7 separate regions of the Homo sapiens genome follow, and regions 1, 2, 3, 4, 5 and 6 are each linked to region 7. The links are contacts of gene promoters, found by promoter capture Hi-C in blood cells and fetal thymus (Javierre and others, 2016). All regions are on one chromosome and are shown on one strand. The core of a region is centred on a gene start or on the middle of the fragment in contact, and the rest is flanking DNA. Distances in the headings are between cores, read along the strand shown. Region 1 overlaps LOC105369632 (a long non-coding RNA gene). Region 2 holds the start of TPI1 (triosephosphate isomerase 1). Region 3 overlaps PLEKHG6 (pleckstrin homology and RhoGEF domain containing G6). Region 4 overlaps LRRC23 (leucine rich repeat containing 23). Region 5 overlaps C1S (complement C1s). Region 6 overlaps LPCAT3 (lysophosphatidylcholine acyltransferase 3). Region 7 holds the start of CHD4 (chromodomain helicase DNA binding protein 4).

What was found. Contacts are between HindIII fragments. The CHiCAGO score rates a contact against its expected background, and 5 or more counts as called.
Region 1: a contact is called between a fragment that was not itself captured here and the fragment with the promoter of CHD4 in region 7, in 3 of 17 cell types (naive CD4 T cells, total CD8 T cells and activated CD4 T cells). The highest score is 6.3, in naive CD4 T cells.
Region 2: the fragment with the promoter of TPI1 here is called in contact with the fragment with the promoter of CHD4 in region 7 in 2 of 17 cell types (activated CD4 T cells and naive CD4 T cells); the score reaches 7.5 in activated CD4 T cells.
Region 3: a contact is called between a fragment that was not itself captured here and the fragment with the promoter of CHD4 in region 7, in 4 of 17 cell types (total CD4 T cells, naive CD8 T cells, non-activated CD4 T cells and 1 more). The highest score is 7.0, in total CD4 T cells.
Region 4: a fragment that was not itself captured here is called in contact with the fragment with the promoter of CHD4 in region 7 in 5 of 17 cell types (naive CD4 T cells, activated CD4 T cells, non-activated CD4 T cells and 2 more); the score reaches 9.1 in naive CD4 T cells.
Region 5: a fragment that was not itself captured here is called in contact with the fragment with the promoter of CHD4 in region 7 in 1 of 17 cell types (activated CD4 T cells); the score reaches 6.8 in activated CD4 T cells.
Region 6: a contact is called between a fragment that was not itself captured here and the fragment with the promoter of CHD4 in region 7, in 1 of 17 cell types (activated CD4 T cells). The highest score is 5.9, in activated CD4 T cells.

What each region holds. Positions count from the first base shown.
Region 1 is chr12:6,885,252-6,888,564 of GRCh38, forward strand. All of the region lies in intron 1 of LOC105369632 (a long non-coding RNA gene), which reads right to left. It also overlaps the pseudogene DSTNP2. Among named protein-coding and RNA genes, the nearest start is that of SPSB2, 14 kb to the left of the region's middle. RefSeq lists an enhancer at 903-1,450. The HindIII fragment of the contact is 1,590 bases long and covers 465-2,054 here.
Region 2 is chr12:6,865,977-6,869,180 of GRCh38, forward strand. TPI1 (triosephosphate isomerase 1) reads left to right here and starts at 1,555. Exons shown (of 7, transcript NM_000365.6): 1 at 1,555-1,705; 2 at 2,888-3,011; 3 at 3,123-3,204. The coding sequence starts at 1,591. USP5 (ubiquitin specific peptidase 5) reads left to right here. Exons shown (of 20, transcript NM_001098536.2): 20 at 8-656. The coding sequence ends at 101. RefSeq lists enhancers at 1-470, 471-1,132 and silencers at 1,402-1,451, 1,722-2,161. The HindIII fragment of the contact is 21,039 bases long and covers 1-3,204 here.
Region 3 is chr12:6,321,563-6,324,713 of GRCh38, forward strand. The region is part of intron 13 of PLEKHG6 (pleckstrin homology and RhoGEF domain containing G6); the gene reads left to right. Among named protein-coding and RNA genes, the nearest start is that of PLEKHG6, 12 kb to the left of the region's middle. RefSeq lists enhancers at 1,370-1,911, 1,800-1,869, 1,920-2,009, 2,453-2,994, 2,995-3,151. The HindIII fragment of the contact is 1,382 bases long and covers 581-1,962 here.
Region 4 is chr12:6,908,659-6,912,043 of GRCh38, forward strand. LRRC23 (leucine rich repeat containing 23) reads left to right here. Exons shown (of 8, transcript NM_001135217.2): 6 at 1,232-1,368. Among named protein-coding and RNA genes, the nearest start is that of ENO2, 4.2 kb to the right of the region's middle. The HindIII fragment of the contact is 2,135 bases long and covers 901-3,035 here.
Region 5 is chr12:7,065,558-7,068,818 of GRCh38, forward strand. It overlaps C1S (complement C1s), which reads left to right. Exons shown (of 12, transcript NM_001734.5): 7 at 260-413; 8 at 961-1,076; 9 at 1,482-1,560; 10 at 2,086-2,214; 11 at 2,899-2,973. Among named protein-coding and RNA genes, the nearest start is that of C1S, 6.5 kb to the left of the region's middle. The HindIII fragment of the contact is 335 bases long and covers 1,367-1,701 here.
Region 6 is chr12:7,005,804-7,009,405 of GRCh38, forward strand. All of the region lies in intron 1 of LPCAT3 (lysophosphatidylcholine acyltransferase 3), which reads right to left. Among named protein-coding and RNA genes, the nearest start is that of LPCAT3, 11 kb to the right of the region's middle. The HindIII fragment of the contact is 186 bases long and covers 2,260-2,445 here.
Region 7 is chr12:6,605,590-6,608,920 of GRCh38, forward strand. It overlaps CHD4 (chromodomain helicase DNA binding protein 4), which reads right to left and starts at 1,790. Exons shown (of 40, transcript NM_001273.5): 1 at 1,711-1,790; 2 at 685-862. The coding sequence starts at 784. LOC124902867 (a long non-coding RNA gene) reads left to right here and starts at 297. Exons shown (of 2, transcript XR_007063193.1): 1 at 297-406. RefSeq lists enhancers at 361-520, 2,261-2,410 and silencers at 871-920, 1,101-1,160, 1,571-1,670. The HindIII fragment of the contact is 30,599 bases long and covers 1-3,331 here.

The DNA.
Region 1 (3,313 bases), core at 10-2,509, 280 kb after region 7:
GGATGCAATCAAAAAGAAATTTCAAGGCATAAAACATGAATGGCAAACAAACGGACCAGAAGATCTCAATCGGGCTTGTACTGCTGAAAAGTTAGGTGGATCCTTTTTTTTTTTTTTTGAGATGGAGTCTTGATCTGTCGCCCAGGCTGGAGTGCAGTGACAGGATCTCGGCTCACTGCAACCTCTGCCTCCCGGGTTCAAGTGATTTTCCTGCCCAGCCTCCTGAGTAGCTGGGATTATAGCGTGCGCCACCACACCTGGCTAATTTTTGTATTCTTAGTAGAGTCAGGGTTTCACCATATTGGTCAGGCTGGTCTCGAACTCCTGACCTCGTGATTTGCCCTCCTTGGCCTCCCAAAGTGCTGGGATTACAGGCGTGAGCCAGCATGCCTGGCCAGTGGATCCTTAATTGTAGCCTTTGAAGGATGCCCTGTGTAGATCATCATTCAGTGCCACAAATTGAAAGCTTCCACGTTTAATGTTATCCTCTTGCTATATAAATAAAGCAAATATATTTAGGCCAGGGTCTCACTGAGGGGAGCTGTCTTGTCATCTTTTAGAGTAAACTAAATACTCTATAAACATATGCAAACAGCCCTAAATATATCTGTAGGGGTGGGTTGCCCCTCCACACCTGTGGGTGTTTCTCGTAAGGTGGGACGAGAGACTTGGGAAAGAAAAAGACACAAAGTATAGAGAAAGAAATAAGGGGACCCGGGGAAGCAGCGTTCAGCATATGGAGGATCCTGCCAGCCTCTGAGTTCCCTTAGTATTTATTAATCATTTGTGGGTGTTTCTCGAAGAGGGGGATGTGTCAGGGTCACAAGACAATTGTGGGGAGAGGGTCAGCAGACAAACACGTGAACAAAGGTCTTTGCATCATAGACAATGTAAAGGATTAAGTGCTGTGCTTTTAGATATGCATACACATAAACATCTCAATGCTTTACAAAGCAGTATTGCTGCCCGCAGGTCCCACCTCCAGCCCTAAGGCGGTTTTTCCCTATCTCAGTAGATGGAGCATACAATCGGGTTTTATACCAAGACATTCCATTGCCCAGGGACAGGCAGGTGACAGATGCCTTCCTCTTGTCTCAACTGCAAGAGGCATTCCTTCCTCTTTTACTAATCCTCCTCAGCACAGAACCTTTACGGGTGTCGGGATGGGGGATGGTCAGGTCTTTCCCTTCCCACGAGGCCATATTTCAGACTATCATATGGGGAGAAACCTTGGACAATACCTGGCTTTCCTAGGCAGAGGTCCCTGCGGACTTCCGCAGTGTTTGTGTCCCTGGGTACTTGAGATTAGGGAGTGGTGATGACTCTTAAGGAGCATGCTGCCTTCAAGCATCTGTTTAACAAAGCACATCTTGCACCGCCCTTAATCCATTTAACTCTGAGTTGACACAGCACATGTTTCAGAGAGCACGGGGTTGGGGGTAAGGTTATAGATTAACAGAATCTCAAGGCAGAAGAATTTTTCTTAGTACAGAACAAAATGGAGTCTCCTATGTCTACTTCTTTCTACACAGACACAGTAACAATCTGATCTCTTTTGCTTTTCCCCACATATATCTAAAGTCTAAAGTTGTTTTTTTAAAAAAAAAAAAGAAAAGAAAAGAAAAGAAAAAAGAAAATAGCCAGGCGCGGTGCTCACGCCTGTAGTTCTAGCACTTTGGGAGGCGAAAGTGGGTGGATTGTTTGAGCTCAGGAGTCCAAGACCAGCCTGGGCATCACGGTGAAACCCCATCTCTACTTTAAATATACAAAAAATTAGCCAGGCATGGCGGCGTGTGCCTGTAGTCCTGGCTACGAGGGAGGCTGAGGCAGGAGAATTGCTTGACCCTGGGAGGCAGAGGTTGCAGTGAGCCGAGATTGTGCCACTGAACTCCAGCCTGGGCCACAGAGCAAGACTCTGTCTCAAAAAAAAAAAAGAAAAGAAAAGAAAAGAAAAAAAATAAAGCCCTGTTGAGGACTTGTAATATATCAGGAATAATGCAAAAAAAAAATTATTCAGACATTTTGCAGCATGAAACACTTCAGTAAATTTATGAAGCTTTAGTTTGGTCTTTTCCTTTTTCTCCTGAGGGTGATTTTTATCAGTTCCTCAAGATTTTTTATTAGTGTTTCTCTGTGGCTCTCAAAAACTTCTTTATTTTTATGATTATTTCCTTATATTTTAGAGACTGGGTCTTACTCTGTCACACAGGCTGGAGTGCAGTGGCGAAGTAGCTCACTGTCACCTTGAGCCATGATCAAGGGATCCTCGGCTTCAGTCCCTCAAAGTGCTGGGATTACTGGCATGAGCCACCATACCTGGCCAGGCCAAGAAGTTCTTTACTTTCTTCCTCAATGATGTATAAACAAAGCCATCACGATCCACTTGCTAGGCGACTTGCACAATGAGTTTCACTTCTTTGTCAATAGAAACCCTTGGCCAGGCGCGGTGCTCACGCCTGTAATCCCAGCACTTTAGGAGGCCGAGGTGGGTGTATCAGTTGAGGTCAGGAGTTCAAGACCAGCCAGGCCAACATGGTGAAATAATACTAATAATGTAAAATAATATCTCTACTAATAATACAAAAATTAGCCAGGCATGGTGGCACATGCCTGTAATCCCAGCTACTTGGGAAGGTGAGGCAGGAGAATTGCTTGAACATGGGAGGTGGAGGTTGCAGTGAGCTGAGATCACACCACTGCATTCCCGTCTGGGCAACAGAGCAAGACTCTGTCTCAAAACACAAAAAACAAAAAAAAAAAAGAGAAAGAAACCCTTAAAATTCTGAACACATTCCACATGCATTGACTGTCAGGCTTCGTTGCTTCCATTACCTGTTTGTTTGTTTGTTTGTTTATTTATTTATTTATTGAGACAGGGTCTTGCTGTATCACCCAGGCTGGAGTGCAGTAGCATGAGCATGGCTCACTGCAGCCTCAACTTTCCCAGGCACAGGTGATCCTCCTGCCTGCACCTCCTGAGTAGCTGGGACTACAGGTGCACACCACCACGTTCAGCTAATTTTCTGCAGAGATGAGGTCTTGCCATGTTGCCCAGGCTGGTCTTGAACTCTTGGACTCAAGAGATCTGCAGCCTCCCAAAGTGCTGGGATTACAGGCGTGAGACACCACACCTGGCCTCCCATTGCCTGTTTAAATAGAAATGATGCAACTAGCAATATGGAAGGACTTCCAGATCTTTACCACATTAAGATTAGGGTCAGCATCCATGGCTCTGGGAGTCAAGGGAGAATCTCAGCCTAATGTATGTGGCTTTGAAACAGCAAATAATGCTTAGATCAGCAGAGTGAAGGAT
Region 2 (3,204 bases), core at 305-2,804, 260 kb after region 7:
TCCCCAGATGGGTGATCTACAATGACCAGAAAGTGTGTGCCTCCGAGAAGCCGCCCAAGGACCTGGGCTACATCTACTTCTACCAGAGAGTGGCCAGCTAAGAGCCTGCCTCACCCCTTACCAATGAGGGCAGGGGAAGACCACCTGGCATGAGGGAGAGGGGCTGAGGGATGGACTTCAGCCCCTCTGCTCTGTACCCTTTTTCCTTTTGTCCCCGGCAGCAGGGAAGAAGCTGGAGGCCGTGGGAGAATGGCTGGGCAGAGCAGAGGGGCAGCGATAGACTCTGGGGATGGAGCAGGACGGGGACGGGAGGGGCCGGCCACCTGTCTGTAAGGAGACTTTGTTGCTTCCCCTGCCCCCGGAATCCACAGTGCTCTGCTTCTCTGTGTCGCCCCGCCCAGCCCCCTGGTGTGGAGGGAGGGGTCTCGTTTGTGCGCGTGGGTGTAGCTTTGTGCATCCTCTCCCAGTGGAGCGATCACCTGTGCCTCCCCTCCCCCTTTGTTTGCCCCTGTGTGGTTGGTCAAGGAGGGATGTGAGGGAAATAGGGACCCCCCGACTTGCCCTCCTGCCTCAGTCTTTCCCCCACCCTGTCTCTTCCTTGTCCTTCTCTGGAAAATGCCAAAATACACGATGTGAATAAAAGTACAACGGCTAAATTGTGTCCTGTTTGATACCTTGGGGGAGAGGCTTACCTTCCTGGGGTTAGCAGGAGGGCGCTTAAGAAAACTCCTAACTCTGGCCGCCTCCCTGCCAAAGTCAAGTCTCCACTTTTCACTGGTTCTAGAGCTCTAGGAAAATTGGGGTTGGGTGGGGAGGTGGAGTAGAGTGACTAAATGCCGACACAAAGCCAAGGAAAGATGGAGTGAAGAACCCTTCCCTCTCTTTATTCACACAGGAGTGGAGGATTTCCCAAATGTCCCTAACTGGCTAGCTGGCTTCAGGCTGGGACTCAGTCCCTGCAGTTCCTGCCAGGCCTTGCCAGCCGGGGCGAGGGTTGGGATGATCCTGGCGGCCTATGCCTGTGTGGGCTGCCCCTCCCGCTGTGAACCCTGCATTTGTCCCGCAAGTTTTCACTCAGGTAGACTCCCTGGGTACAAGGGTGCCTGCTCAGCAGTCGGGCATGAGCTGCTCCGATGGGCGAAGGAGGTTGTCTATCCCACAGTTGGAGAGGGGCCCTCTCTGCCCCAGTGGGCGATCTGGGCTACGGCCAAGTTGCCACCAGCTAGTTCCGCTTGAAAACCACTTCTGGCCCCGTGGGGGACTCAAGTCGCCAAGCGAGGGTTCCCCTGAGCGCCGGAGCTCACAGGTCTCGCCTTGTCCCGAAAGCCCCGCAATCGAGGCGGAGGCGACCGAGCCCCCGACTCTCCTAGAACGTTGCCACAAGAAGGGGGAACGTCGGAACAGTGCATCATCGGGCGGCGGCCGGGGCGGCGGCAGGAGGGCGGGCGGGGGGCAGGGCTCCGGGGGACTGGGCGGGCCATGGCGGAGGACGGCGAGGAGGCGGAGTTCCACTTCGCGGCGCTCTATATAAGTGGGCAGTGGCCGCGACTGCGCGCAGACACTGACCTTCAGCGCCTCGGCTCCAGCGCCATGGCGCCCTCCAGGAAGTTCTTCGTTGGGGGAAACTGGAAGATGAACGGGCGGAAGCAGAGTCTGGGGGAGCTCATCGGCACTCTGAACGCGGCCAAGGTGCCGGCCGACACCGGTAAGCCCTCGCCGAGGAGGGGTCTGGCCGGGCCGGGGCCGGGGCCGGGGCAGGAGTGGCAGCGCCCTCTCCCGAGGCCCCGAGGCCCCGAGGCCGGTATCCGCGCGGACCTGATGCAGGGCTGTGGGACGAGGGCCGCTGGGGTCCGGGCAGGGGCCTCGCAGCCGCAGCCCCGTCGGTGCGTCGAGGGGGCAGGGCGGAGCACATGATGCCCCTTGGACTATGGGGCAGGTAAGGACGTTTTGGGTCTCCTGGAGGAAGGTGGCCCCGGGGCGCGCACTGGGGCTGTGCCCGCCAGGCGACGGGGTTAGGAGCGGAGCCCGAGGCTCTGCGGGAGACCGGGGGAGGCTGGGCCGCGTGGGCTTCCCGCTCCCTGCGCCCTGGCCTCCCGCGCCGTGCGCCGCCGCACGTAGCCCCAGACTCCTCCCCTTCCTCGCCGGCGTCCGCGTCCCCGCGCCGAGCTGCTCGGGCTCCCTGAGCCCCAGATCTGACCCCTTCCCTTCGGCAACCTGAACGACTCCCGCCTTCCACGGAAGGGACCGAGCCCGTGCCAAACAGGCTGAGCGATTTGGGAGTGAGGAGCCATCCTACCGCTTTCCCCAACCTGGAAACAGCAAAGCGCAAGGCCTCTGAGTCAGTTAGGTCTCTGCCACCCACGGGCAAAGGATGCTCTCCTCCATCCTCCTTCCTCCCTCCACCGAAATCGGAGAGCCGCGGGCCTGATCCAAAGAGGCATCCCCTTCTCGTTCATTCCCCAGAGGCCTCAATACAAACCCCAGGAGTTGGCCCCTCTCCTTTTGCTACAAATCCTTGCCTTGCAAAGGGGAGGTGAGGATGGGCTATTTTAGAAGGGAAGCAGGGTTGCTCCCTGGAGAATGCTGAGTCTGTGAGGTGCCTATGCCGAGAATAGCTCGAGGAAATTGGAGCCCCAGCTGTTAAAAGAGCAGAGGGCAGGGTGAGGGCCGTGGCCTCTCAGGGGTATCTGGAAGGCTCTTCGAGTTGAGTGCAGACCCAGCCTGGGCTGGAAAATGGACAAAGGTCATCTTGCTGGGGTGAAAAGGGGGAGAGCAGAACCAAGAAGAAGAGGGTGAGGGCTGGGGGGCTCCAGGGCACTGGTTAGGAATTGTGGGGAATGAAGGCTTTCTTTAGTCTCATCCCCCTGTGGTACCATCTTGTCCTCAGAGGTGGTTTGTGCTCCCCCTACTGCCTATATCGACTTCGCCCGGCAGAAGCTAGATCCCAAGATTGCTGTGGCTGCGCAGAACTGCTACAAAGTGACTAATGGGGCTTTTACTGGGGAGATCAGGTGAGATCGAGGTGGAGAGGGGTGTGTGGGACCCTTCCCTCACTTTCCTCGTTGAGGGGAAAGCCACAGGGTGGGCTCCCTGCTGAACCTTGGCTTCATCTCTTCCTTTAGCCCTGGCATGATCAAAGACTGCGGAGCCACGTGGGTGGTCCTGGGGCACTCAGAGAGAAGGCATGTCTTTGGGGAGTCAGAT
Region 3 (3,151 bases), core at 22-2,521, 280 kb before region 7:
GCGCGGTGGCTCACGCCTGTAATCCCAGCACTTTGGGAGGCCGAGGCGGGCCGATCACGAGGTCAGGAGATTGAGACCACGGTGAAACCCCATCTCTACTAAAAAAGACAAAAAATTAGCCGGGCGCGGTGGCGGGCACCTGTAGTCCCAGCTACTCGGGAGGCTGAGGCAGGAGAATGGCGTGAACCCGGGAGGCGGAGCTTGCAGTGAGCCGAGATCGCGCCACTGCACTCCAGCCTGGGCGACAGAGCGAGACTCTGTCTTAAAAAAAAAAAAAAAAGAAGAGGGAAGAGAAGGGGGAGCCTTAGGGATACTTTGGTTAAAGTCTATACTGAATTCAGAAAAATCCAGGTTCAGACACCGGTCCTACCAGGTCCTAGCCATGTGACCTTGGGTAAGTTATATGACCTCCCTCAACTTCAATTTCGTCATCTGCAAAACAGATATACACAATGACTACCTGCTTCCTAGGGAGATTCAAAGCTGTCATTCGGCTTAGGCACACAGCCTGGGGCCAGCACTGGGCACAGGCTCAGGAACTCCAGATACCCAGCGGCAAAGAGCACAGTTGGCCTCCCGAAGCTTCAGTTTGGAACACTGCATTGGCAATGGGACCCCAGACAGAAATGCAGTCATTAGAAAGGGAAAGGGAAATGTGTTTGTTTAGTTATTGCTTCCTCAGTGAGGTGGCTTTACTGTAGGAATATTTAAACAGCAGCGCTTTGAAATTGAGGCAGCCAAGATATAACCTAGTGGAGATATCTTAGGGGCTTTGGGAACAAAAGAAACAGAAACAAAGACCTGGAATTCAAGTGAAAGAGGAGGACAAAAAACACACCCCAAGGGGAGGCAGGTGGGTTTTGTGATGACAGTGGTCTCCCATCTGCCCTGTCCCCTGCTTCCGGCTCGGTTCACTGTCCCCTCTGCATGGCAGGGACTTCTCTCCACCACTTCCACCTAAGCCTAAACACACTTTCCACTAGGCTGGACTGACTGGCAAGTGACATCATTCTGGTGGTTAATCAAATTTTCTTGGCCAGGCGTAGTGGCTCACCTCCTCTAATCCCAGCACTTTGAGAGGCTGAGGCAGGCAGATGGCTTGAGACCAGAAGTTCAAGACCCAGCCTGGCCAACATGGCAAAACCCCATCTTTACAAAAAATACAAAAATTAGCTGGGCCTGGTGGCGCATGCCTGTAGTCCCAGCTACTCGGGAGGCTGAGGTGGGAGGATCACTTGAACCCGGGAGATAGAGCCTGCGGTGAGCTATGTTCCCACCACTGCACTACAACCCAGACAACAGGGTGAGACCTTGTCTAAAAAAAAAAAAAGTTAAATAAAACATTTTCCTGAAGGCTAGAGGCTCAAGGGGGAGCCCAGGGACAAAAGCGCAAGCTAGTGGCATCGGTGTCCCTAGAGCCCCAACTCCCCAGGATAGCCAGTGGGGCTGGCAGTGAATGGCAGGCTGCCTTTTTTCCTTCGGAACTGCCACCTCCACCTTCAGAACTTTCTCCTCTTTTTTTTGGTTTTTAGTCACAGAACAACAGCCAGACTCTCACCTTCTCCCTTTCAGAATCCCAAGAGCTACTGAAAATTACGGGTATTTTACTATGCAAAACAACTCAGTCCCCTGGTAGTCTCACTCCAGGCTAACAGGAAAGATCTGTCAAGATCTATAACCAAGATATGCACCAAGGCTCCCTGGCCTTCCTTAGCAAAACAAAGAAAACTGAAACTTTGAAATGACTTTTCCTGCTATTGTCTCACACCAGATTATTAGGGAATCCTCTCTAGAGCCATCAGTCTTTATACACTGAAGAGGGCAGTAGAAACTCTGTTGGTCCCTTTCATAGAGCAATCCCCAGGGGGCAGACTATTGTTTTCTCACCCTGGCAGAAACGTTGACTTGCAGATTTATTCCTAGCGGGTCTAGCTGTGATGACTCACACTTTTAGAGAAAGTAAGCTTCTCCAGGGAGAAGAGACTGAATCTTGGGGAATGCCCAGGGACTGAGAAGAGGAAAAGGAACAGAGACAGGAACAGAAAGAGCCGTCAGAGATGGCGACCAAGAAATTAAAGCAGGGAGACTGAAGGAGGCAGCCGAGGCTAAGAGCCAGGGTCTGAAGGAGAGGCCCGAGCAGCTGTCAGGGAGTTACTTCACCTCTTGGGGAGTTGCAGTGCACGCAGGACAGACAGTCCGCAAGTGGCCAGGCACAAGGCCCAGCACTGTATGGGCACTCCATAAATGTTTGCCGTTGTCATCATTAGAAGAAAGGGGTGGTCTTTGGGGCCTGGGTAGGGCCTGCTGCTGACTGGGGAAACGCATCCGCATCTGTTGCTCAGGAAGTCAGTGGGCACGTTTCAGAGTTCGGTTTTAGTCCGGCACTGGGGAGTTCTGGGAGGAGAGTGGGTGAATCTAGGAGCCACCCCAGAGACAGCAGGGAAAGGAGGCATTTCCTCTCCATGGGTACAAAGGAAGAAGAATCCTGCTAGGGGCCCTCCCTTCCTCTTCTCAGTTTTGTAGGGGGGTCACATTCTGGCTTAAGCGCCAATTTCCTTTTCCTTTCCCGTCCCCTCTGCCCCCATGTGTCTCTCCTCTTAACCAAGCCGAGAAAATTCTCCCAGGGTTGCTGGAGAGGCTTTGGGCTCGCTGGGAGGCACCTCCAAGAGCCCCATCCCGCCCATTCCCCCGACCCCCTACCCCGTACTCGGGGCTCCCCCTCGCCCCCCTCCCCCCCCCGCCGCCTCCTCCAGCCTCTTCCTGGGGTCGGGCAAGGGGCAAGTTTAGCAGAGATGATGGCATTGAACGTCCCTTACAGAAACCCTGCTTCCTTCCAGTTCTTCTTTCCCGTAACATCCCTTCCTTGGCACCCGAAACACAAACCTGAATTTGGGTCCTGTGGGGCAAAAGGGCACCCCAGCAGGACAAGCAGATCGGCCCAGCGCCTCCACCCTCTCTTTTCTCACTTCTTCCCTCCCTTCACATGGAGTTGGGAGATGAGGCCTGGGAAAGAGGGAGTCCTGCCCCAGGTCCCGGCCCTGGCAGGTTTCCTACCCCCAGGTACCCTCCCCTGCTCCGGCCAACAGACCACATCTTATGAGAATGCTGTCAGCCTTGGGAATAAGTGACTGGAGAGCCAGAAAAAGCAGAA
Region 4 (3,385 bases), core at 718-3,217, 300 kb after region 7:
ATACAAAAAAAAAAAATTAGCTGCGTGTGGTGGCAGGCACCTGTAGTCCCAGCTACTCGGGAGGCTGAGGCAGGAGAATGGCGTGAACCCAGGAGGCGGGGCTTGCAGTGAGCCGAGATTGCGCCACTGCACTCCAGCCTGGGCAACAGAGCTAGACTCTGTTTCAAAAAAAAAAAAAGAAAGAATCACAGTCAGAAAGAGGGAGTGGGGGGAAAGATTAGCGCTTTCTCTTGGAGCAGGTGAAAAGACGGCTGGAGAAGTTCCTGAGACCTGCCCCTGAGGCCCAGCACACCCAACTTTATAACAAAAGACTGCAAGAAGGGCTATTATGGGGGTTATAAGCTAGGGACTGTGGATGAAAACCGATATATATATTATATATTATATAATTATATATTATATATAAATATATATTATATATTATATAATTATATATTATATATAATATATAATTACATATAATATATAATATATAATTATATATTATATATTATATATTATATATAAAATATATAATATATAATTATATATTATATATAATATATAATTATATATAATATATATAATTAGATATAATATATAATTATATATTATATATAATTATATATAATATATTATATATAATTATATATAATACATAAATATATATAATAGTATATATTATATATAATATATATAATATATAAATATATATAATAGTATATTATATATAATATATTTTATATAATATATAAATATTATATATAATAGTATATTATATATAATATATAAATATTATATATAATAGTATATAATATATAATATATAATATATATTTTATATATTATATAATATATTATATATTATATATATAATAACTCCACAGGAAGCCACTGAAATATTTAGTCTTTTAGACTCTTAAGCTTCGTTATTCTGGGATGGTGCTGATGCCAATCCTCAGTGGTGGCCTGGGGGCTCCTGGGCCGGGTAGGGGTGGGTTGAAGCATCTCCTCCATCCCAAGTGGCTTTGATGGGGCGAATGGTAGAGGGTTACTGCTGACCTTTCTCTGGGATGGCAGCTTCTCCTGAACTTCTTTACTTTCTATACTGATCTCTACTCACCCCCACTCCTTTCTTCCACTCCTCCCTCTCTACCTCTTGGATTTCCTCTTTTGCTTTATCTCATTCTGACTTCTCTTTCTTCCCTATCCCTGCTCCCTCTCAATCAATCCACTGTGCCCTGGGGGTCTAGGCCCAAAACATGCTGAAGAAGGTGGAAGGCTTGGAGGATCTGAGCAATCTCACCACCTTGCATCTTCGAGACAACCAGATTGACACCCTGAGTGGCTTCTCCAGAGAAATGAAATCATTGCAGTACCTCAACCTGAGGTATGCACCCTCTCCAAGCCCCACCTTGCCCCTACCCCTGACCAGGTGCAGCTTTTGAGTCTGTGTTCTTCCCTGGCCCAATCCCCCAGTCCTAGCCCACAGCTGGATTCTCAAGGAAAGCCCGGCTTTCCTTCCTTTCTTCTGCACTGAGTTGCAACACTAAATCCCTTATAGCTTGTGACCCCTGAATTTTTATTCATTCAATCCACAATTATTGAGAATGTGCTATGTGCCAGGCCTTGTGCTGTGTTTTGGGGACATTTAAAGCAATCAGAGGCTGGGCATGGTGGTTCATGCCTGTACTCCCAGCACTTTAGGAGGAAGGATCACTTGAGGCCAGGAGTTCAGGACCAGCCTGGGCAACCTAGTGAGACCATGTTTCTACAGAAGTGAAAATAATGGCCCGGCATGGTGGCTCACACCTGTAGTTCTAGCACTTTGGGAAGCCGAAGTGGGCAGATCGTTGGAGCCTAGGAGTTCAAGACCAGTCTGGGCAACATGGCAAAATCCCATCTCTACCAAAAATACAAAAATTAGCCAGGCATGGTGACAGGCACCTGTAATCCCAGCTACTCAGGAGACTTAGGCGGGAGGATCGCTGGAGCCTCGAGGTGGAGTTTGCAGTGAGCTGAGATAAAGCCGCTGCACTCCAGCCTGGGTGACAGAGCCAGACCCTGCCTCAAAAACAAAACAAAAATAAAATATTAAATAAAAATTAAAATATTAAATTAAAAATAAAAATTAACTGAGCCTGGTGGTGCACACCTGTGGTTTCAGCTACTCAGGAGGCTGAGGTTGGAGGATCACTTGAGCCCAGGAGTTCAAGGTTGCAGTGAGCCATGATTGTGCCACTGCACTCCAGCCTGGGTGACAGAGTGAGCTGTCTCTAAAAGAAAGAAAGGAATCAGAGGTGATTCCTGTTCCTAAGGGGCTCACAGTCTGGCTCCAACTCTTTTTTCCTCACCCTATCCTATATAAGTTTCCACTGCCCTTCTCCATTTCCTCGGTCCCAATTCACCTTCCCATTTCCTGCCTCTCTTCTCCTGAGCCCCACCTGTAAGGGATGACCTTTTTACTGATTAAAAAAACACAAGATGTGCTCAGATTTGAGGAGAGAAGGACATTTGTAAGAAAATCTTTTGGTAGAAAGGCACTGAAGATCAGCAACTCTTGTCGGATGGAGGACTTTATGTGTGTTTATTTCAGCAAACATGTAAGGAAACTGCCTCTTTCCTTAGTCAACAAGACCAGATTCTTGAGCTGGTAATGGAAAGAGCATCTCCAAGTAGGGAGAGGTGGTTGCATCTGGAAGCCCCAACTCTCATCCTGACCCCCTGGGCATTCTCTTATTCATGAACTCTGCCACACGGATCTGGTGGGGTGTGTATCTGTGCCATCTTCCTGTTAATGATCTAGACAGGCATGATGGACCCTTCCTGAGTGGCTATTAAATGGGGATGTTTTGAGAGTAAGTCGGGTGTGTGTGTGGAGGGGGGTGAGGGTGTCTCAATGATTGGCAGGTGCCTCTGGGGCCAGAGATGCTAAGCATCCAACAATGTATGGCAGAGTCCAGTACAAAGTTCCTGTAGCCCTCCTGGTGAGAAACACTGCATGAGGCTCAGCACGACCATGAGATCAGGCTGAAACACTTAAATAGATTTCATAAAAGCTTAAAGCCAGAACATGAAAATAAATAAAATTCCAGGCATGGTGGCTCACGCCTGTAATCCCAGCACTTTGGGGGGGCCAAGGCAAGAGGACTGCTTGAGGCCAGGCGTTCAAGACAAACCTGGGCAACATAGTGAGACCCAGTCTCTACAAAAAATTTAAACATTAGCCAGGTGTGGTGGCACATGCCTGGAGGTACTTAGGAAGCTAAGGTGAGAGGATCACTTGAGCCCAGGAATTCAAGGCTGCAGTGAGCTATGATCATGCCACTGCACCCCCAACCGGGGTGACATAGTGAGACCCTGTCTCAATAAAAATAAAATAAAAACAGAGTATCATATAATGAGGC
Region 5 (3,261 bases), core at 284-2,783, 460 kb after region 7:
TGGGGTTTTGCTATGTTGCTCAGGATAGCCTGAAACTCCTAGCCTCAAGCAATGCTCCCACCTCGGCCTCCCAAAGTGCTGGGATTATAGGTGTGAGCCACTGCACTCAGCCTGAAGATAAAATTATCTTTTCTCCTGACCCTTATTTTCTTCTTATTTTATGTGACATTTAATGCCTCTTTTATTTGTATCTCCCACTTCCCAATTTTACCTCTTCCCTTTAGTTCTTTCCCTCTTCTGATTTCATCATTTTGTTCAGTTTGTTGCAGGAGATCGGCAATTTGGTCCTTACTGTGGTCATGGATTCCCTGGGCCTCTAAATATTGAAACCAAGAGTAATGCTCTTGATATCATCTTCCAAACTGATCTAACAGGGCAAAAAAAGGGCTGGAAACTTCGCTATCATGGAGATCGTGAGTAACTTAGAAGTGCCTCTTTGGTTGGTGATACCAAAGTCCCCAAACAATGTGGGATCAAAGCAGGTAGATGATCCAGGCACACTGGAAGCACCTGTGATCTCAGCTACCGAGGGAGGCTGAGGCAGGAGGATCCCTTGAGCCCAGGAAGTAGGAGTTTGAGTCCACTCTGGGCAACAGAGCAAAACCTTGTCTCTAAAACAAAACAAAAACAAAGCAACAATAATTTAAAAAACAGATAGATTGTTGTTCTGATAGAATCCTGAGATACTTCACTTCTTCAGGAAAATCTAAACCAGTCAACGGTTGCTAGAAATGCCTCAACCTCTAGTAATCCTTTAACTAGACCTGAGACTGCAGACAGCTTGCGGGTGGTTAGTTGGTAATGCCATATGATTTTAGACATCTGCTGTATTGGAATGTTAAGCATCAGGATTGAGGACAACTGGACGATTTTAGAAAGTGTGAGAATGATGTAAATAGAATGAGAGTCTTCAACTATTTAGTAATTTTTTCCTCCTGTCCCAACTTCTGTTCTTTCAAGCAATGCCCTGCCCTAAGGAAGACACTCCCAATTCTGTTTGGGAGCCTGCGAAGGCAAAATATGTCTTTAGAGATGTGGTGCAGATAACCTGTCTGGATGGGTTTGAAGTTGTGGAGGTAAAGTACCACCTTGGCTTCTCCCCAGTCCCTGGCCCCAGATCAGGATGAGCGGACTGAAATTGTCCAGTTGTTTACCCAATGTATGTGTGTGATCAAGGTATAACACCTTTCCCATAAACACAACAGCTTAAGATCTGTAGTTCTCCCTTGTGAGTCATGGAGCTGCCTGGCCAGCTTGGCATTCTCTCTGCCTTCAGTCTTCTTGAGGAAGGGGAGTTGACACGTTGGGGCAAAGCTTTCTGTCAGCCTCATCTCCTGGGTGCTTTAGGTCTGCTAAGATGTTCCCAAGCTTCTTGTGGTGAGGACTCCTCATTGATCCAAGGCCAGAGATCAATTCCAGTTTTGATTTTGGTTTCCCATATCTCTCTTCAGAAATAAGTGGTGATGTTTATTATTCTCCAGGGACGTGTTGGTGCAACATCTTTCTATTCGACTTGTCAAAGCAATGGAAAGTGGAGTAATTCCAAACTGAAATGTCAACGTATGTGTCTCTTCAAAGTGGAAGTCTTTCTTTTTCTCTCAGAGAGAATGGAAAGATCAGCACATCAAAATTCAAATGCATGGTTTCCTCTTAGGCATGTGAGGGAGTGGGTTGGGTTTTTGAAGGGAAGCCAGTCATGGAAGCTTTTCTAGTCCCAGCCCCGCATCTGGTCCCAGGCCAACTAGATCGGCATGTTTCTTTCCAAGAAAGGGGCTATGGGATAGGTCGAGTTAGTAGCCCCACGTGGGTGCATTTGTGGCTTCCACTGGGCCTTCACCAACCACTGAGAACCAGGCTCTTCACTACGGCTTTCATGGGGCCATCTGAATTGGCATCTCAGCGGGTGAGAGAGCTGAGAGATGCCAGTTGGGGAGGATGGCCACAGAGAGGCTGGTGTGGGGAGGTTCATCCCAGGTGTGCCTGTGGATATGGGGTGGGGAAGCAGTGAGGATGAACCTGGCCCCATGACTCTTCCTTGGAGGAAGTGGCTGTCCTGACCATCGCTCTCCTTCCTTCGTCTGGTAGCTGTGGACTGTGGCATTCCTGAATCCATTGAGAATGGTAAAGTTGAAGACCCAGAGAGCACTTTGTTTGGTTCTGTCATCCGCTACACTTGTGAGGAGCCATATTACTACATGGAAAATGGAGGAGGTGGTAGGTTTCTTCTACTGGAGAAGAGAGAGAGAGAGTGAGAAGGTGTTGGAGGGTGGATAGCATAATCTGTGCCAGAGACAGAGTTTGGAGACAAATGAAGGCGATAGGACAGACATTGTTCATCCCCTTGGCTTCGTCCAAAGATACAGTTTTCATCTGGAGCAGGGCAAGTTCAGGGGAGCATCAGCCTCAGGGAATCATAGAGGTCACCAACTGAGTTCACAGCTGCAGCAGGAATTCCCCTACAACATCCATTTCATGGGATTACCCACCTTTTGACCAGTTATTTCATGTAAAACCCACAGGAGCAATGCCTTCAGCTTTAAGCCACCAAACTACACTGACTGGCTTTCTTGATGTAGAGGCTTTGGTCATGCTAGGTGCAGGGCTGAATGAGACCCTAATACGTTCTCTGCATTGCTCTGTATTTATTTCGCCACTTTCCCGATGCCTTCTTTCCTTCTGCTTTGGAGATGTTCCCTTTGTCTCCCTGGCAGGCTAGAGGCCTGAGGGATTGTTTGGAGGAAGATATTTTTTTTCTGGCTGATTTAATCTGATTTACTACTTGAATCCTAGACGAGCTGAGGTTCTGAAGGAACGGGGCAGGGTGTTGGGGTCGGAGGGGGGAATGGAAGAAGGAAGATGTGGTGGTGAGTGTGGCCTGTGTTCTCTGTGCTATTCCAGGGGAGTATCACTGTGCTGGTAACGGGAGCTGGGTGAATGAGGTGCTGGGCCCGGAGCTGCCGAAATGTGTTCCAGGTAAGGAGGGCTGAGGCTTGGGGAGAGATGATAGCCATGGGTGACTGGGAGTCACCTTCTGAAAGCAACTGTAATCCTCTTGGGAAAGGACTGAACAGTGACCTGCCAGAGTCCAGCTCAGTGAGGTGGCAGTATCACTGTGCCGTGGGCTGCCAGGGCCGTGGGGAACCTCCTCAGCCGCACTGAAGCCAGGCCAACTGGAAGGAAATAGAAACGTCAGCCAGCGACAGTTGGTGTCTGGTAATGTAGCTGCAGTGAGAAGATACAGAACTGCTAAAAACAGGGCCT
Region 6 (3,602 bases), core at 1,103-3,602, 400 kb after region 7:
CTTTAGACATCTGAATACTAGACTTATGATTTACAAATATTTTCTCCTATTCTGTGGGATAGCTTTTTACTTTCTTGATAGTATCCTTTGGTGCACAAAAGCTTTTAATTTTGATGAAGTCCAATTTATCACTGATCATACCAGCTGGAAATCTACTTTTTTCTATGTCAGCATCTCAATATTACTTGATGATCTGGGGAGAATTTTTGAAAATATAAAAATAATATACATAAAATTTTGATATAAAACAAGAGGGCCAAGACTTGAAGAAATCTGGAGCTTCTGTTGAGACGATGACCTGGGGTCCCAATGATTACTGTTAGGATCTTAATGTACTTAGTGGAAAGGTTGAGAGGCGCTGGCCTACGGCAGGCACTCCTACAGTAAGACTGAACCTAAACTGACATTGGTCAGTTTACTTGGGAAGTTGACCATATGTTTTTTGTTTGTTTTCTCCCAGGCTATAGTACAGTGGCGTGATCTTGGCTCCCTGCAACCTCTGTCTTCCAGGTTCAAGCAGTTCTACTGCCTCAGCCTCCTGAGTAGCTGGGATTACAGGTGTGTGCTACCACACCCAGTTAGTTTTTGTATTTTTAGTAGAGATGGGGTTTCACCATGTTGCCCAGGGTGGTCTCCAACTCCTGACCTCAAATGATCCGCCCACCTTGGCCTCCCAAAGTGCTGGGATTACAGGCGTGAGCCATGGTGCCTGGCCGATGGTATACATTTTAAAAATAAATGTATGCTATCTAGGAGTTCCCATGTTTTGCTATTATTTCCTATTCTTTCAGAGCACCAATAGTCAATGAAGAATTAAAAGTGAAGTCAGATTATCCTTTAGCTAAAGAATGGGGATTTCTAGTAGTACGGTTCAATATTTTTGGTCAGGGCCCCATATGTTTATACTCCAACTTTAATCAATCTTTTCCACTTCTGACTGAGGGATATGCTGTAGGAACTTTATGTGTACTATTTCAGTTGGCCTCTGCTGGCTTATAAACAGTAGTTGATATTTAGGGACAGTAATCCAGAGTAGTGTCCAAGTCCATCTGAGTTTAGAATTGCTACCACAGCAGAAATTGGAAACCTCGAGAGTTATAAGCCATTTACCACATCTACATGGATGCCACTTCTCCTTAAAGCATATACAAATATATAGAGATCGGAACTTTAACCTTCTGGGATCTAATATCTTCCTAAGATTTGCATACAGAATGTACACATGGATCTTCTATTATAGCAAATTCTTTTTTTTTTGAGACGGAGTTTTTGCTCTTGTTGCCCAGGTGGAGTGCAATGGCGCGATCTCGGCTCACTGCAACCTCTGCCTCCCGGGTTCAAGTGATTCTCCTGCCTCAGCCTCCCAAGTTGCTGGGATTACAAGCGCCTGCCACCATGCCCGGCTAATTTTTTGGATTTTTTTTTTTAGTAGAGACAGGGTTTCGCCATGTTGGCCAGGCTGGTCTCAAACTCCTGACCTCAGGTGATCCACCCACCTTGGCTTTCCAAAGTGCTGGGATTACAGGTGTAAGCCACCGCGCCTGGCCAGCAAATTCTTAATTGCCTGTAAAATTACTATCTCACTATGTATTATTTTCGGAAGCAGATATGACCGTGTACAGTTTTCTTATAAAAGTGCCATAGCAACATGAATACTCAGTACTGACAAGCATCTTTAATTGACAAAAGCTTTTTTTTTTTTTTTTTTTGAGACGGAGTCTCACTCTGTCCCCCAGGCTGGAGTGCAATGGTACGATCTCGGCTCACTGCAACCTCCCCCTCCCAGGTTCAAGCGATTCTCCTGCCTCAGCCTCCCGAGTAGCTGGGATTACAGGCGTGCACCACCGTGCCCGGCTAATTTTTGTATTTTTAGTAGAGACAGGGTTTCACCATGTTGGTCAGACCAGTCTCAAATTCCTGACCTCAGGTGATCCACCCACCTCAGCCTCCCAAAGTGCTGGGATTACAGGCATGAGCCACTGTGCCCGGCCATGACAAAAGCTTTTTATTTTTAATTTAATCTTAGCCTATGGTTAAAGTGAAGCATTTAAATAGCCTACTTGATGACTTCATGTGAGCCAAGAACAAAACCTGGGTCTGATAATCTTCTACCTACTCTCTGACAAACTGTCCCTACAATTATAATGCAATGACATTTCTATGAGCAGCCTCTATTACTAACAGTTATTATACACTTGGTTCTTATACAGAATACTTCATTCAAGATGTCCAGAGCTTCATCTAGCTCACTATCTTCAAAGCTTCTGCTTGCAAAGGGAGGAACTTACACCATCAGTCCATTTTAAGCCAAAAGGAAATTCTTACCCAGAAATTAATTACTTATCCTTTTTTTAGTGTGTTACTCTCCACACCCCCTTCCTGTTTTGAAAGCAGGGAGAAATAATGATGTATACAGTATCTTCTGAACTATACAAATTACAGATAAGCTTTAAAGGTCTCTAGGAAGCTACTACTGTTTCACCATAAGAACTCCAAGTGGGCCCTAAATCTCCTGGTCCTTGACTTCAGCCACTGCTAGGAAAATGTCAATACACACACACTCCTATCTTAAAAACTCTGTGCTTGAGAAGAAGGATGGTTTGCTTTGATATTAGACTAGCTTTCCCTGGCAGCTGCAACTAGGGAACCTAATTTTTGTTAAAGCTACAAGTCACAATTTATTACTTATATTAAGAAACGTAAGGAGATCAATCAGGAGAATGCTATATTGCTTAAGGTGGTTGATGCAACACAAAAAAGATGGAGCCATTAGTCCAATAACCTTATTAAAAAAATTCCTCCTCTGGGTGTGGTGGCTCACGCCTGTAATCCCAGCTACTCCGGAGGCTGAGGCAGGAGAATTGCTGGAACCTCGGAGGTGGAGGTTGCAGTGAGCTGAGATTGTACCTCTGCACTCCAGCCTGGGCAACAAAGTGAGACTCCATCTCAAAAAAAAAACAAAAAACACAACTCCTCTGTATCTAACCTTCTTATCAAAAGTGTGAAACAGATGGTGTATGTGATGATCATGATAATGAACATAATAACAATGTGAACATAATAACAATGTGAACATAATAACAACAACATCTCTTTATTCCTCAGATAACATCCAGAGCAGGAACTCTGGAGTCAGGCAGAACTGAATGTGACTTTAAGCAAGTTACTCAATTTTTGTAGGCCCAACTTTCCTATCTGTCAGGCCTACAAATGGGAAAAACTAAACCATAAGGAATCTAAGAGTTTTGTTTATTCCAAAGAGTACAGGATACAATGACCTTTCTTTTTTTTTCTGTCACCCAGGCTGGAGTGCCATGGTGCAATCTCGGCTCACTACAACCTCTGCCTCCTGGGTTCCAGCGATTATCCTGTCTCAGCTTCCCAAGTAGCTGGGACTACAGGCATGTGCCACCATGCCCAGCTAATTTTTATCTTTTTAATAGAAATGGGTTTCACCATGTTGGCCAGGCTAGTCTCCAACTCCTGACCTCAGGTGATCTGCCTGCCTCGGCCTCCCAAAGTGCTGGGATTACAGGCGTGAGCCACCGCGCCTGGCCAATGACATTCCAAAAAGGTACTATCAGGACATCAAGTACTACAAA
Region 7 (3,331 bases), core at 540-3,039:
CCAAAACTATGTCCACTCACCAGGAGGAGGAGTGCCCTCCCTTCTTTTGCCCCTCTTCACTAGGCTATTACATCCTCCCCGAGCCCCCATCACTTCCCCACTCAAAACATTCCAGCAATCTGCCTGGCTGCTTTAAGCACTCCAGATCCTGCTGAGGAGCGCGATTCAAACTTCACACAGTTCAGACAGCACAGAAAACCGGTAACCGATCAGAAGCTAAAAATAATCAGATAGAGTGTAACCAGCACTCCCTCTTTCCTTTCCACAGCAGCAACCACAGGATCCTACTAGCACAGATGCCCGGCTGGTCTTTCAAACAGAATCCTCAACGCCCCCCTCCACCACCACCACCACAAGCCTCCAGGGGTCCCAGCTACCTGCATTCCTCCGAGGACCCACATACCAGGTAATGCCTGCCAGCCCAGAGAGCTCCCTCAACTGGGAACTGCAGAGCATTCCTCAAGACAGAGTGCAGCAAGCTGGCATCTCCGTGCCCAGGAGGCACATGGCTTCCACCCCCCTCACACCAGAGCTCCGCAGAAGGGAACCACTCCCTTCGGATACCCTCCACCTCCGGCTCTGCACAGAGACAGCGGAGCAACACAGCCCTGCCTCACCAGAGGAGTCACTCGGGAGAGCCCCAGATGTCTCCTTCCCGCCATGGGCCCTTGGGGAAGATGTTACCTGGGTGGGGTGGGGGCAGGCTGTTGTTCAAAAGTGCATCCATATCCTCCTCCTCACTGCCCGCCGAGCAGGGGGACGGGGAGCCCAGGCCCGACGCCATCCCCTTCCGCTCCCGGCCAGGGAATTGGCCCAGCTGCTCCTGCCGGCGGCCTGAGGACCTCTACACTGGCCCGAGTCACTGTGCGGGGGAGGGGGGAGAAACACAGAACAGTCAGTGACGCGCACTGTCCCCCTCCCCCACACCCACCCGCTCTTTCCGCCCCCCACCCCAGCCACCCTAGCAGGGCACCCGAACCGCTCAGGCTGAACTTAGTTCCACACTCCTCGGGGGCAGCCCGGAAGCCGGCTCCCCGGCAGGCGCCCCCACGGAGCGAGGGAGCGACGCCTCCGAGGGCAGGCTGGTGCAAGCGCGGGGAGGGGAGACGCGGGGCTGGACCGAGCGGGGTGTGACGGGGGAGGGGGTCCGAGTGGCAGCGGCGCGGGGGGGCCAGGGGAGGCCGCAGGCGGCGAGGCGCTCGGGGACACAAGGTCACTTGGGGGTGGGGGGGCGCCTCCCTGCGCCCGGGGAGGGGCCAGTCCCCAGACAGGGCAGCTCTCCAAAGGCTGTCCTCTGGGACAACTCAGGTTCTCCTCAAGAGCTGCGGGGACGAGGGGGCGTGGAGGCTCGGGCGCTGCGGGGGGCCGGAGGCAGGGACGCGGGGGGCGAAAGCGTCCCACCGGGAAGGGGGCCGGGCCACGTGTCCCGGGGGGCAAGTGATCAAAGGGCGAGGGGGTGGGCGCCGGGCATTGTGGGAGACCAAGCCGGAGGCGGGGGGTCGCGGGGAGCAAGACTCCGGCAGGGTTAGGGCGGGGGCTGGGGAGGAGGCCGGGCGCCCTGCAGGGCCAGGAAAGGAAGGGTCGGCTCCTCTGGGCAAGGGGCGGTCCGCGGGTCCGGAGACGCCTGAGGAAGGGGCGGGTGACGGGATGACCCTCGGGGCTGGTAGGGCCGTGAGGGGCGTCTCTTTGGGAACCCCGCGCTCTCCTCACCCCGGAGCCGCCGCAGGTCGCGCTGGGTCCGGCTCGGTGTCACTCCCGCTCCGGCTCCTCCTCGCCGCGGCCGAAGGGGGGAAAATGGCTCCGGCTCCAGCGTCGCCTCTTAAAGGGCCTGAAACACCGGCCGGGAAATCCCACCGCACAGGCCCCGCCCCCCCACGGACAGCCCATAATAACCTCAACCAACTCCAACCCCCCCCTTCCACTACCGCCACCCTCCTCCCCAGGTCTCCCGGGCAACCCCCGCCCCCTCGTCGCTCAGGCAACCACTGGCCACGCCCCCTTCGCAGCGGGCGCGCGCGCGTCACCTGGGCAACCGCCCACCTCCTGGCCATCCCATAATACACACGGACACCCCCCCCCCCAACACACACACACACACACACACACACACACACACACACACACACAACACACACACACCCTGCCCCCCCACATTTCATACACATATGCCAGAGACTGCTGACATCTCAAAATATTGCAGACCTTTTGCAACTAACCCTCTTAGACATCCCATAATAGACATCCTTTGCCAACTTCTTCTTCACTCTTGGACCTAATGCTAACATCCCATAATAATTCATCACCCCTCCCTCCCCATGGCCATCCCATAATAAGCACCCCTCGCAGCACTTATGCCTCATATCCCATAATATTCAGCCCCATCCCCCACAGACATCCCATAATAACCATCCTTCATCCACCCCCAGTTTGATATCCCATAATAGTCAGAAACTCACCCCCCCCCATACTACAACAACGGACACTCGGCCTCCTCCCACACACATCCCGTAATAATCAGTCTCCCACTTTCTATACTGACATCCCATAATAACTAACCCCCTAGAGCTGCCCTCAGTCCCTGCAGGCCAGGGTCTAGAGGCTCACATCACCCCCAGCCTTCCCTCTTCTAGCTCCACAGCCTATAGTAAGTACCCCTCCTCTATCAAAAAGATAACCCATAATGATCAACAGCCCTACTGTCGCCCCACAGATGGACATCTAATCTCTTTTCCTCTAACACTGGAAAGCTATCCCATAATAATTTTACTCTCCTACCCACATCCTGACATCCCATAATAATTGCAAGGAGCCCGTGGTCAACCAAACATACCATAATACTCCCAACACAACCCAGTGTCACATCCCATAATGCTTCATCTCCACTCTACCACCCCTATACCCTTCGAGCCAGGCATCCCATAATATTCATATTCTTCCCACCCCCATCTCCAGGCGCTGTCAGTCTATTCTAACACCCAGAGCAGGGAGGGCCAGGCAGGCTACCCACGCTTCCTTGTCCCCGCCCCCACTTGCACACACCTTAATCCCTTTCTGGGCCAAAGTAGTATCCTGGCAAAAAGCCTCCTGATGTCTGGGACCCCAGCTTCCCTCATACCATCATTTCCAGACACTCGGGGGCTGGGAGCCCACCTAGGGCCCCACCCAGTCCCACCAAAATCTAGGTATTTTCCAGATGCTTACCTCCAGCTCCTAAGTTTTGAGGAACACCAACCAACCAAAATACCAAGCTGACAGATGAAACATTTACATGAAGTCTAATTCACCCTACAGCATCCCATAATAATTACCAACTCCCATCCAAAGACTATCT